Linked DNA regions of Homo sapiens: region 1 is linked to region 2. Evidence: promoter capture Hi-C in 16 types of primary human blood cells and fetal thymus (Javierre and others, 2016). All regions are on one chromosome and are shown on one strand. Each heading gives the region's core, a stretch centred on a gene start or on the middle of the fragment in contact. The rest is flanking DNA. Distances are from core to core; before and after follow the strand shown.

Evidence for each region. Contacts are between HindIII fragments. The CHiCAGO score rates a contact against its expected background, and 5 or more counts as called.
Region 1: a contact is called between the fragment with the promoter of FECH here and the fragment with the promoter of SEC11C in region 2, in 2 of 17 cell types (non-activated CD4 T cells and naive CD8 T cells). The highest score is 5.9, in non-activated CD4 T cells.

What each region holds. Positions count from the first base shown.
Region 1 is chr18:57,582,808-57,589,480 of GRCh38, reverse strand. It overlaps FECH (ferrochelatase), which reads left to right and starts at 2,779. Exons shown (of 11, transcript NM_000140.5): 1 at 2,779-2,927. The coding sequence starts at 2,861. RefSeq lists silencers at 2,598-2,957, 2,968-3,027, 3,038-3,087. The HindIII fragment of the contact is 11,690 bases long and covers 1-4,356 here.
Region 2 is chr18:59,137,646-59,144,994 of GRCh38, reverse strand. It overlaps SEC11C (SEC11 homolog C, signal peptidase complex subunit), which reads right to left and starts at 5,111. Exons shown (of 6, transcript NM_033280.4): 1 at 4,960-5,111. The coding sequence starts at 5,046. RefSeq lists enhancers at 403-452, 2,369-2,468, 3,287-3,336, 5,252-5,351, 5,432-5,521 and silencers at 5,072-5,211, 5,632-5,681. The HindIII fragment of the contact is 2,684 bases long and covers 3,340-6,023 here.

The DNA.
Region 1 (6,673 bases), core at 1,530-4,029, 1.6 Mb after region 2:
ATTTTATTTAGGATCACAGGCTGCACTCAGAGTGGTGTCTGTGACAGGTGAGTGCTTTATTCACTAATGAACTCACCAGGCCCCAGACAAACCCTCTCCCTCCTGGTTGGGGTGCTCCTTATCTCCGTTAGCCCACACACTGTGCCTTTTTAGCCTTCTGTTTGCTAATGGAATTGGTGTGTCATTTTGTTAAAAATATGTTAAGTCAGAAAAAATTCATATTATGTATATCATATGGTTCCGCAAATTTCTTTAGCCTTTCAAGGGCTTTTCTGGTAAGCCTGTATTTAGAGTTCACAATTTCTGGATTAAGGACTGTGTTTTCTACCAGTTTTGAAAAGGACCAACATAAAGCACATTTTATCTGCTTTCACTGCATAAGAACATAAAAATTTACTCATTGGAAAGCTGTTATATTCAATGTTTGTAAGAAATAAGCCATAGATTAGGAATAACAATTGTTATGGTACTCTCTGTTGGGGAAAAAGAATGAAGTTCTGTTTTCAGTTATAACCCATGAGTTCTTAATATGTGCACCAGGAGGTTTTATACATGAGGAATTTTGAATGAGTTTTTAAAAGTCAGTAAAGCACCTGTAATCCCAGCTACTCGGGAGACTGAGGCAGGAGAATCACTTGAACCCAGTAGGCGGAGGTTGCAGTGAGCCGAGATCGTGCCATTGCACTCCAGCCTGGGCAACAGGGTGAGACTCCCTCTAAAAAAAAAAAAAACAAAAAAAATTAATTAATTAATGAAAAAATAAAAAATAAAAAAAGAAGTCAGTAAAAATGAAAGTGCAAGATGCGAATAAAAGAAATGAAATGATGCTGATTCATTAAAATATTTAATAAAGTATGTCTTGCTAGTTCCATAATCATTTCTGGACAGAAATTTAACCCACGCCAGCCATTGATTTTGTACTGGTGAGACTTGGCACCTTTATGCCTTGTCACTAATCATCAGCGTTTGCCTGGGAGGGACCAGAAGCCCCCTTATCTCTACCCAGCAGGAGGGCCCAGCACCCTGGATGGAGGGGATGACTTTCTCCAGGGCCTCCCAGAGGGGACAAGAAGAGCCTTCATAGCTCAGACGTCTAACCCCCCCGGCCATTTTATTCTCTGGCCTTGTCTACATGTCTGCCAGCACAGCATTGCGAGGTGTGCAGCCTTTCAATTTAGTTTCTTTAGAAGAAATGGGCTCAGGCCGCGCATGGTGACTCACGCCTGTAATCCCAGCACTTTGGGAGGCCGAGGTGGGTGGACCACTTGAGGTCAGAAGTTCGAGACCAGTCTGGCCAACATGGCAAAACTCTGTATCTACTGGAAATACAAAACAAACAAATAACAACAACAACAACAAAAATGGGTTCAGACTGTAGGTAGAGAAGTATGTTATCCATGAAGATCACCTCTTTACAGGGCAACTTAAGAAGACTATAATTTTTTTATGAGGGTAGAGAATAGCCACACATATAAGGAAGGTGGGTTGATACCTGGAGCAGGTTTTACTGTGCTTTTCTCAGGACATCCGCTTGGATATGAAGATCATGTAGGTAATATGAAAGGCTATCCATTTAATTTGACATTTTGCATTGGGCTTATAACCATCAGGAGGACCAACTTTAATAAGAAATAAACTAATTCCATCAGTAGCACATATTTAAGCTACAGAAAACTGGGTTTCAGCTGAATCTAGACTCCATCTTCCCTGAATGTTCCATATGGCTTGCCCCCTTTGCTCAAATGTGTATAAGGCCTTTGCTCGAATGTGTGAGACTCTGACCCACCTGCTTCAAATTGCATTAGTCCCTTCCCCCACCCTACCCCATCTCTTTTACCTTGCTTCATTCTTCTTTTGTCCTGAGAGGGAAAAAGAAGAGGGGAGGCCGTGGAAGGGCTCCATCATTCAAAGTATTACATGTTGTGATTATTTTCTGTGTCTCCCCTAACCCCATGTAAGCCCCCGTCTACTCTTTTCACTACTGTTTTCCCAGTGCACATAGTAGGTGCTCAATATTTGTTCAATGAATACCGATGCCTGAGACCTTTCTGTACCAAGGGCTGGTTTCCTACTCCACAATGCACTGAACATATATAGGCAGGGTGGGCTGACGGAGGTGTAGGAATGAAATGGGCGCCTGTTCCTCCCAGTGATCTCAGTGTGCGACCTTGGGGGCGGGACGGGCGGCTAAACTGGGAAGGTGCGCGGATATGATACAGACAAACCTCATCATACCGTCCCTCCAAGAAATGCACTTGCCAGGCTGGCCTTCACTTTTCCTAATGCTCTTCAGTGAGTTTCACCTGTCAAATTCTGCTACACAGAGAGGGTGCAGAGAAACTGAATAATCCCTTTTTCTATTCTGAAAATAAAGCAAAACAAAACAGGATCTGCACACTTGTGTTGTGACTAGGCAGGCAAACTGGAGAACTGAGGCAAAAGCATCCTTATATCTAAATAATAGTAATGGAAACGTCGAAAAAAGTTATTTGCTGAGTCATGGCTGAGGATCCTGACTTCGCTAGTTTGGCAGATGCAAACAGGGCACGCAACTAGGAGTCCAGCAGGTTTTGCAGTGACCTGCGATGGTGGTGGGGAGCGGGCTTCTAGCTCAGCCCCCGGGCCCATTTTCACGCAGGGAGCGGCGCCCAGCTGGGGCGGGCTCTCCGCGAGGGGCGTGTCTCTGCCTGGCCTCGCCCGCCCCGGCCCGGCAGCGAATGAGCGGGCGCGCCGGGAGGGCGCGAGGTCAGGGGGCTGGGGACGCGCGTGGGGATCGCTACCCGGCTCGGCCACTGCTGGGCGGACACCTGGGCGCGCCGCCGCGGGAGGAGCCCGGACTCGGGCCGAGGCTGCCCAGGCAATGCGTTCACTCGGCGCAAACATGGCTGCGGCCCTGCGCGCCGCGGGCGTCCTGCTCCGCGATCCGCGTAAGTGGGTCTGTCGCGGCGGCCGCCAGGGCCAGGATCCCTGAGAAGGCGTGGGCAGAGCGGGCAGCTGGCGCCCGGGCCCTCGCGCCCGGGGGATTCGGGGAGCGGCCTTGGGGGTGCTGCGAGCAACCGGGCGAGGGGCGTCGCGGAGAAGGGAGGGCTGAGGGCAGCACTCAGGGCTCGGGAGGCCGCGGGGAGGGCGCCCGGATCCAGGAGGCGCAGGTTCAAGTCCCATCGGTCGGCTGGGTGGCTTGGAGCAGTGGCTGGAATTTCCCAGAGCCTTGGTTATTGTCACCTGCAATAACCAGGCTGTTGAGAAGATTACGCGAGGGAAGGTATGTTATGGGCCTGCCATAGAGGATAGTAAGGAAGGCATCTTCATCATCACCACCATGGACATCTGCCCTGCAGTTCCCTCCCTGCTGAGGAAAGCCCATGGTCCTTGGTCCCTCTGTGCCCACTTCTCCTTAGCAGCGGGACCCCCCGTGGGGCAGCCTGGGCTAGCGTTTTCTAGAGATATCTGGGGAACTTGTAAGACCCAGGAACAGCCTCCCACGTTTCTGATGCAAACCGTGAATAGGTTGTGACCACAGGATGAGCTGATGGGACTGTGGATCTCACACACCTGGCTGGGACAGCATTTCCAACTGTGACACCTTGAACAAGGCACCTAACCTCGCCAGAGCTTTGGTAAATGTACATTGAAATCCTAATTTTTTTTTTAAGGCTTGCCTTGAACATGAGCACCTTGCCTGGCACACAGTAGTACACAGGCATCCTCAAGATGTCTAGCCATTCATGCAGAAGGCTGCCACGAATAAGATGCTTATTCAATGCATCCGAACGGTGACTGGACACAGACCGGACATATTTTTCTAAGACGTTCGTCAGTCTGACACCTACTTGGAGTGGAGGGAATCCCCTCTGAACCTCCATATCTCATTAGACGTGCCTTTGTTAGGAAAATACTAAGGACCCAGTGTACAATGAGGCTAGCTCACTAAGGGCGCTGGGGGACAAAGGGCATTGTTTTTTAAGAAGAGGCAGCACAGTGCCAGTCGTGGGGCTGAAAGAAGTATTGAACTAATCTTTTCTTTCACTGACCTTTCCTGTGGCAAATAAAGTCTGACAGGTCCTAGATTTGAGGTCGTGGAACAATATGTGAAACTTTAAATTATTTGTAGTCTAGGTTAAAAGTGGAAAGATTCAGAAACGCTAGCAGAAGTAGATTTGGAGTCTTATTTGTGTTACAGACTTTGATTTGAAGGCATAGTTATAATACTTCATCATTTTGGTTGATAGGAAAAGATCAACTTCTGTGTGAGAAAACACTGAGGATTATTTCCGAAAATGAGTTCTGAAAGTAAAAGTGGAAAAGCAAAGTTTTATACTTTATGTATTTAGCATATTACAGAATTAATAAGAAGCTTCCGGGGGTGGGCCATATATTATCTGTCTGTTTAGCTATCTATATGAATTATTTTTTTTCTTGGTGCCTTTTTCTTTCCAAACTTTAAACGTTTTGTTTCTTTTGTTTTTTTAAGAGATGGAGTGTTGCTCTGTCGCTCAGGCTGGTGTACGGTGGTGCCATCATAGTTCACTGCAGCCTTGAAATCCTGGGATCAAGTGATCCTCCCGCCTCAGCCTCCCTGGTAGCTGGGATTACAGGCATGATCTAGTGTGCCTGGCCCCCCAAACATTTTTTTTCACTGAGCATATATTGTCTTATGTAATTAGAAAAACAATTCTAGGATAATAAAAGAGTTGTAGGGTTTACATAAGAGACATTAGAACATTTTGGCTCCATATCAGCAACTAACCAATATTTTGAAGCACCCACTATGTTTATTAATAGTTATAATATAGAACCTTATTTCTTTTGTTAATTTTAAAAACGGTGCATATTTTATAAGTACTTTTGAAGTAATCCTCATCTCCTATGTGATAGAAAAGTGCCATTATAGATTTCAATACTTGTGTATCTCGCCCCCCACCCTCTTCTGCCTCGCCCACAAGGATCCAAAATATTAATTTGGTTTTGAAGAACCAGTTGATACTTAAGAACTTTTTTTTCTGTTTTTCCTTTTTCTTTATTTCTTTTTGCAACAACATGAAGTCATAACTTAGGAACTTCTTAAGTCATAGGTATACTTCTGAATGATCACCTATTGGATTTGTCCAGGAATTATGAAGTTTGTTTTTTGAGAGTTTTTTTTTTTTTTTTTTTTGAGACCGAGTCTCACTCTGTTGCCTAGGCTGGTCTTGAACTCCTGAGCTCAAGTGAGCCTCCTGCCTCAGTCTTCCAAGTAGTTGGGACTACAGGTGTCCACCACTGCAGGAGTTATGAAGTTTTGTTTTCTTTTTTTTTTTTTTTTGAGACGGAGTCTCGCTCTGTCGACAGGCTGGAGTGCAGTGGCATGATCTCGGCTCACTGCAACCTCCGCCTCCCAGGTTCAAGGGATTATCCTGCCTCAGCCTCCCAAGTAGCTGGGACTACAGGCAGGTGCCACCACACCCGGCTAATTTTTTTGTGTTTTTAGTAGAGATGGGTTTCACTGTGTTAGCCAGGATGATCTCTATCTCCTGACCTGTGATCTGCCCGCCTCGGCCTCCCAAAGTGCTAGGATTACAGGCATGAGCCACTGTGCCCGGTGAAGTTTCGTTTTCTTATGTCATCTTCTGTTTTGCTGCTTATCTGTCGGTTTGATCATTTTTATTGTTTGTAGGCCTTCTTTTTTTCTTTTTAATTAAACAAAATAGAGATAGGGTCTCTCCACATGGCCTAGGCTAGTCTCAAACTCCTGGGCCCAAGCAGTTCTCCCGCCTCGGCCTCCCAAAGTGCTGGAATTACAGGCGTGAGCCCCCATGCCCGGCCTGTTTGTAGGCCTTCTAAAGGTAGATCAGTTATCCATGTAAGGAGGAGGGGCAGAATTACTTGGTCTTAGTTCATAAATGGGCAAGTCTATACTATTGGATATTCTTCACCCCTTTGCTCAGCCACATGCAGTGTGCAAGGCATTGCTCTTGGGGCTGGACATATTTTTCCCCTCTTATCTTCACAGCAGCCCTGCAGAAGTAGCCTTATCACTATTTTGCAGATGAGAAAAGTGAGACTCGCAGCATCTCAGTGAGTGGCCCAGGCCCAGCCATACAGCCTCTTGGTCCCGTGTGGGATTTCTGCTCAGATCTCTCTGGTTTCCGAACACGTACTCTCTACGCCACGCAATGCTGCCCGTGCCATCAGATTCTCTTCAGCTGTGAGCTGAGTCTTTTCCAGAGTCTCAGTTGGCCCTTTGAATGTTTACTTTAAACTCCTTTAGCCTGGACGAATGCTAATTGTTTGGTAGGAGACGCTTTTCATTTTTCTAGAATCTTCAGATCATTAGGGGAGAGGAGTGTTTTGGATGAGTCCTTGAAGGGTGAGTGTATTAACGAACCTGAGTGGAAAGGGTCCCTTGGCAGCGACATCATTCTCCTCTCTGAGAATCTGGTGAACCATGGAGAAAATAATTTTGTAAGTAAGACATGGTAATAGTTAAGCAGCTTGAAAAGCTACTAGCTCCCAAATTTATTAGGAAATCCTCATCTACTAGTTGGAAAATCTAGTCCCTCCCCACCGCTTCCTTCTTCTTTTTTTTTTTTGAGATGGAGTCTCACTCTGTCACCCAGGCTGGAGTGCAGTGGTGTGATCTCGTCTCACTGCAAGCTCCACCTCCCGGGTTCATGTCATTCTCCTGTCTCAGCCT
Region 2 (7,349 bases), core at 3,862-6,361:
GTTTGGCAAAAGTTAAGTATTCAATTTGTTGAATAAATAGTGATAAAATAAACATCTTTAATGGTGAGTGCAAACAAATCAGCAATAAGAAAAACACTAAAATTCCAACAGAAAAAGGTAAAAGCTTAAAACTATAATTTTCCAAAGGAAAATACAAGTAGTAAATAAACATAAAAAATGTTCAAACCAATAATCCTGCCTCTACCCTCCTTGCAACCCCTTCCTTTTTTTTTGTTTCTAGCAACTTTTTTTTTTTTTTTTTTTTTTTAAGATACAAGGTTTCAGTCTGTGGCCTAGGCTAGAGTGCAGTGGTGCAACCATAGCTCACCACAGCCTCAAACTCCTGGGCTCAATGGATCCTCCCACCTCAGCCTCCCAAGTGGCTGGACTACAGGCATGTGCTGGCATGCCTGGGTAGTTCTAAATTTTTTTCTTTGGTAGAAATGGGGTCTTTTTATGTTGCTCAGGCTGGTCTTGAACATACTAGCCTCAAGCAATCCTCCCAAAGTGCTGGGACTATAGGCGTAAGCCACCACACCTAGCCTTTGCCTAAGAAATTTAAAGTGTCTGGTTTTTTTATTGTTGTTGTTAATACTAATACTTAGTGCTAGCAAGAATACACTGTGATGGGGATACAAATTGATAAACCATTCTGAAAGCTATTTGGCATTAGTATTAAGAGGTTACTCTTGGCCCATAATCCTACTTCTAGGAATTCAGTATAAACTAAAGGCAGGTTGAGAATTATGGCCCGAAGACATTTATTACAGTCTTAATTCTAATAATGTGGAAAAGGAAATAAATGAGCAACAATATGGAAATAACTGAGTAGAAAGTGGGGCCAGGTGCAGTGTGGCTCATGCCTGTAATCCCAGCACTTTGAGAGGCCGAGGTGGGCGGATAACCTGAGCTCAGGAGTTCAAGACCAGCCTGGCCAACATGGTGAAACCCGATCTCTACTAAAGATGCAAAAATTAGCCAGGCATGGTGGTGCATGTGCCTGTAATCCCAGCTACTCGGGAGGCTGAGGCACAAGAATCGCTTGAACCCGGGAGGCGGAGGTTGCAATGAGCCGAGATTGCACCACTGCACTCCAGCCTGGGTGACAGAGCAAGACTCCATCTCAAAAAAAAAAAAAAGAAAATGGCAGATTACTCCACTATTTAAAACAATGCATAAAGAACTTAATGGGAGTGGAGGAGAAAGCGGGTTGGGTTGGGGGAGGAAAATAAAAAGGAACTTTAATGACATGACCAAACACAGTATGTTGAGTGAAAAATGTAAGCTGCAGTAGGATCTCACCAAACGATAAAACAAATACAAAGAGATGCCCCAAGACGCTAAGAGAGGCTATTTTAGGATAGTGAAATTATGAGTCATTGACTTTTCTTCTTTAAACTATTCTCTATTCTGAAAACAAACTCTGACTGATGTAGGAAAAGCAGAGCTCAGAACTGTCTCTTGCTAATGTTAAAACTGTAAAAATAGGTAATTTGAGGCAATAATGAAGGATACAACTGAAAGTGAGGACATAAATGAATTAAGATAATTGTTAATGTATTTTGGTGCAATAAATCAAAATAGGAAAATAAATATAATTCAACATTAAAGTTACACACTTTTTTTTTTTTTTTTTTTTTTTGAAATGGAGTCTCACTCTGTTGCCCAAACTGGAGTGCAATGGCGCGATCTCTGCTCACTACAACCTCCGCCTCCTTGGCTCAAGTGATTCTCCTGCCTCAGCCTGCCGAGTAGCTGGGATAACAGGTGTGCACCACCACACCCGGCTAATTTTTATATTTTTAGTAGAGACGGGGCTTCACCATGTTGGCCAGGCTGGTTTTGAACTCCTGACCTCAAATGATCTGCCCGCCTCGGCCTCCCAAAGTGCTAGGATTACAAGCGTGAGCCACTGCACTCAGCCTACACACCATTTTTAAAAGCGACTTGGCTACTGTGTCAATAGCAAATTATGAAACTATCACTATATTCCCAGGAGAGTGAAAAAGGAAACTGGAGTGCTAAGCAGACATTGACAAAGTGTTGGGCTATAATATGTTAAACCATTGCTTCTTCTGGTTCCATGGATTAAGTTCTTTAGTGGTGATTTCTAAGATTTTAGTGCAGCTGTCACCGGAGCAGTGTACACTGTACCCAATATGTAGTCTTTTATCCCTCATCAAATGAAGAATATTTACCAGAAAGTTGCCATGAAACAATCAAAGCCTTTACACCATTTCACCATAAGCTCAAAGAGCATAACGGAAAAAATCAAAGATCACAAAGCAAATACTTAAGAATGCAAAGAAGTGAGCCGTTAGAAGAGATAAAACATTCATGTCTTCATTCAATAAATATTGAGATTCCAACAACAACAACAAAACACTGCTTCTAAAGTAAAATCAGCCTTACAAGTCACGTCACTCTAAAGCAGAAGCTGTTCACTGGAATTTACATTCAAAAACCTCCCCACCGGCTCTGCCTGACTTAAAGGATTTGATAAATAACCGCTGTTTCATTATGAATTACAGATCTGATGAGGAAAGCCCCAAACCATGGTTTTAAACAACGATTGCCGTTTTCAGACAAGTTTTCAAGTCATCTGGCTCCACCCCGATAAAATCTTGCCACTTAGCCAGTAAAGAACTTGTACCAAGAATATATTTTCCAGTATAATTTCCCATGCTTGAAAAGTTCATTAAGGGAAAGCAAAATCAATTCCTCAAAAAAACTTCCTTTGAGCAAGCCATCTACCTGCTAAGGAAATGTCCAAATACACAAAAATATAAAAATCAAACTAAGAAACCACAGATCACACTTTTAACACCTTAACTTTAAGAAACCTACGAATCAGATTCTAGGCATAAAATCCTGGAATCCAGAAAAGTAATTTTGATTGAACTACTGACAAGCTGACTGCGGTCTGGAAAAAAAAAACCACCACCATGTTTCACAGGTGCTTTTGTTGTTGTTCACCTTTGCCTACCAACTTTGTATGCTCAGCACTTAATGCTCACAGCAGAGTGTAGAACTAAGTCCATACTCAGTCATTGTCAACCAATGATGAAACAGCCAATGTCTAAGAGTTTTAAGCAAACATTTCAGATCAAATATTCTGGCTGACAGCAGCAGCACTGCCAGTAGCTGTATTTCTTCCTCTCTTCCTCACTGCAGAAACAAAGAGCCCTTGTGTTGCATGTGGGTCCTGCTTTAATAGTAAGCAGGGGCAGCAGAGAAAGAAGGTCCTGCTTTCAAGACTGGTGGAGCATGCAGGCCTGACAAAGTGTCATAAGATGCTATTTTGGAGGGAAGAAGAGAAAAAAAAAAAAAGACAAAGCTTTTTTAAAAAGTACCAAGAAGCAGTAGATTTGAGCTTGCTGAATTTTAATTAGAAGACTAGCAAAACAGGCAATACAGCCAGCTACTGGCAGGCCTTATCGCTGAGAGCAAAAACACACTGATCTTTCAAAGGGCAAACTGGTTTAGGGATCAATACACTCATCAGAGGGCCTTTTCTGACAGTCTGCAATTATAGCCATCAGTAATCAGTACCAATTTTAGAGACACTTTAAAAACCCAGCCATTAAGTCTAGATTTTTAAACAAAGCTCTGCTTCCTGGAGGATATTCTTGTGAACAGCATCAATGCTCAGGACATTAGCAGTTACTTTTTTAAGCTGGTGATAATCTCTACTACAACTCATCTTCCAGAAACAGGAGTCATCAGCTTTGCACACCTAGACACTACCACATCCTAAACACGGTTGATGAAATAGAAATTATCAAACTTTCCCACACTACTGCACTAGTCTGAAATTCTACTTGGGGAAGGGGGAGGAGAGTGAGAGGGGAAAAACACGTATGCCTAAAGGAGTAAGCTGTGACCTCCCATGGGCACCACCCCACATCTCAACATGATGGAGCAAATGAAACTGGATGCCATCAAAATAATGAGGATTAATACCATTTTCAAAGACAATCAAAACTCCCTGGTTGGAAGGTCCCATTTTTCTTAGCACAATTTATTAGTAGCAATAGTGGCATTAGTATCCACCGTGATATTCAGGTCCTACAGGTCCCCCAAATTCTCTACCTAGAAGCCTACATAGTCGTATTTTTCCTGACTGAGAGGGCTTCCTTTCCAATCCCTACTCACTCTTAACCTTATAGTGAAGAGATAAGGCCCCAAAGACAGTGATGATGGCCAATAAGTGGCTAAAAAGAGAGCAAGAGGAACGTTTTCCTCTGAGGTCCTCTCACAAAGGAGAGGGAATTCAACCACCCCAGCTGCCCAAAGACCCTACACTGCCTCCTATATTCAGAGTGCAGCCATCTCAGAAGTTAGAGAAGGCTTCTGGAATCTCGCTGGGAACACTGGTTGAGTCCACAATGATTGCGCACAGCTTGTGAGCTCTCTAGGCACAAGGAGCATTATTTAGTCCCGACCCACGGTCAGGGGAAAAACAACTGCCCAGGCTGGGAAGAAACTGCTTTGGGAGGCATCGCTGGACAGCTCCCGTTGTAGGAAAGTTCTTCCCTCTCGCCTGCCTTTCTGCCTCTTCCACCTGCCGGCAGTCAGGCCTCTGAAGCCCCACAGAGAAATCGGTTCCCTCTTCACCGGGTGGCCCTTCAAATACGCTCAGAGAGCTGTCGTTCACCGAGTCATCTCTCCCACAAGCGTGGCTGTGGCATTCTCAACCACATTTGACATTCCATGGCACGGGGTTTCTATTCTCCCCTTTCCTGCACCCTCCCCTAATTGTGCTCTTGTCAGGGCAAGGAAGTGCACACCCATGCCCACACGTAGGCGTAGAACCCAGGGCCTGAGAGCCCAGCGCGGGAGCTTCGGGTGGCCGCCCGGCCGCATTCACTGGGAGCCGGAGCCCTGACTGGGAAGCCCCGACTCCCCGCTAGCACAGGCGGTCCCGGCCACGGCGCGCTCACCACCCTCCTCCGTCACCTGGCGCTTGTTCATCTTCTTCAGGTCCCCGAAGATATCCAAGCCGGACGCGGGGAGATGAGCCCCCACGGCGCCCGCACGCACCATAGCAGGGTCTCCGGGGACCTAGCGGCCCGCCGGCTCTGGGTGGCACAGACGGCTGCGGAGCACCTGCCGGCCCCCGCCCACCGGCCCAGCGTCCTTGCGGCCACGTGACCGGCGACTCGCTTGGGCGTCTGGGAATCGTAGTCTCGCCAGTCTTGGGCACTGGCCAGCCAGGAATGAACCTGAAGGAAGAAAACTACCACTCCCAGAATGCTGCGGGGTGGGCACCTCGGCCAGTGAAGACCCGGGGCTCCTAGGGAGGGCAGCTACAGGGCTCCGGAGCCTTGTCCGACCCTTCGGAGGGAACATCGAGCAGCGAGTGACCCCGCATACCTCGGGGGGCAACTCGGGGAAGGGACTACTCAAGAGGAGCTGAATTTCCCGACTCTGGTCAGGCGCCAAGAGGACACCTAACTCCCGCTCGCAAATCACCTAGCCGTGTATCTTGGCTATTGGATGACTGCAGCGAGGAAAGGTGGTGCCTCTACGCTGGGGCGGGCTGAGCCGAATTGGGGCGGGGCCTAAAGATGGACTGCGGTGGGCGGGGCTTGGAAGAGGCGGGACTTTTGAGGCCGCTGAATTCTGCATTTTGAGTGGTACCACTTGTATGCAAGGAAGTATCTTTGAATGCCTTGACCATAATTGGGTTGCAATAGATATTAATTAAATGAATACATAACCACCTAATTTCATACACGAGAAAGCAAAGGCCCAGAAAGGTTCATTGACATGGCCAAGGTTAAGTGGAAATGAGTGGAATATAACTCAAAGTTTTAAATTTAGAAGTCCTAGATCATCACAGTTCTGATCCTAGATTACCTTTGGTTCATTCACTCACTCGTGTATGCATTATGCATTCTTTATTGTATTTATTTATCCACAAATCTTTATGGAGCACCTACCATGCACCTGGCCTTGTTCTAGGCACTTGAGAAACATCAGTTAACAAAACAAGCAAAGATTCTTGCCCTCATGAAGCTTATATTCTACCGAAGGCAGACATAATGGATAATTTATACGGTACCTAAAGGATGGAGGTGCTATGACAACAGGAAAAGCAGATAAGTTGAATGGGGAGGTCTGGGGGAAAGGATCAGGTTGCAATTTAAAATATACCAGAAGCTGACTTACCATGAAGCTAATGAAAGGTAAGTTCTGGGACCCTTCAATTGCAAAGGTGTTTTTCCAAGGTGTGGGAGAAACTTAACCATAGAATGTGTAAAACTTTCAAAAGCAAGATATTGCAATTGCTATTGGTTAAGAGTTCTGTTTCTTTGCATTCCAACTTCACCTCCATTACATTTCCCCTCCTGTTGGAGGGACAAGGAGAATTTTGGGGATCCAGCTAAGGAGGAAACGAGTTGGAGATACATTTGGTTTGAGTTTAGTGAATTTATTTATGTGGTTCATGGTCTTTCCTGCCATCCTCGTGTAAAAAATGGCTTCTGGGAATACTGCCATCCACTGGGCCAACTCACCTGGCACCGTGGCAGGAAGTCCCACTGGAAGTGGCATCTGATATGAAAGTGTTCTGCAGCACTTGACCTTGGAAATAAGTGGATGGAGAGGAAAAACAAGGTTTGAAATGTACAGATCCAGAAGCTAGTCTGTGTAAAATTCTTCCAAATATCAGATGTATAAAATTATAAGTGCAAGACACAGTGCTTAGTACATAGGAAGATATGGTGATAGTTAACCCTGCCACTAATAATTGCTGGAACTAAGGTGGCAGCACTAAAGGTTCAGAATCTGGATACATTTTGAAGAAAGAGTCTTCAGGATTTTTTGAAAGAATAAATATAGGGCGTGAAAGAAGAAAAGAGATTGAGGCTGACTCCAGGGTTTTTAACCTATGGAACTAGAAGGGTAGAGTTCCCCTCAACTTCAATGAGGAAAGCTGTGGGTGGAACAGGTTTGTGGGAATAGAGTAAGGGTCCAAAATGTGACCAATAAACCTAGAACCCAGTGTGATATCTTCACATCAGAACCTTTGGCCCAGCCTCCAGGCTCCTGCTTAGGTTGAGCATTGGGTGAGAAGCAACACAGGAAGACATTGGGTAGAAGTCCCTGCATATTGTCCAGTCTTAGACTAATTTATTCACCTCCATGAACCCTTTGCTCATCCACCAAATAAAAACCGTATTTGTTACAGCCACTTTGGAAGACAGTTTGGCAATTTCTTCCAAAACTAAGCATCCTCTCACCATATGATGCAGCAATTGCACTCCTTGGTATTTACCCAAATACCAGCTTGAAAACGGATGTCCACACAAAAACCCGTACACGGATGTTTTTAGCATCTTTAT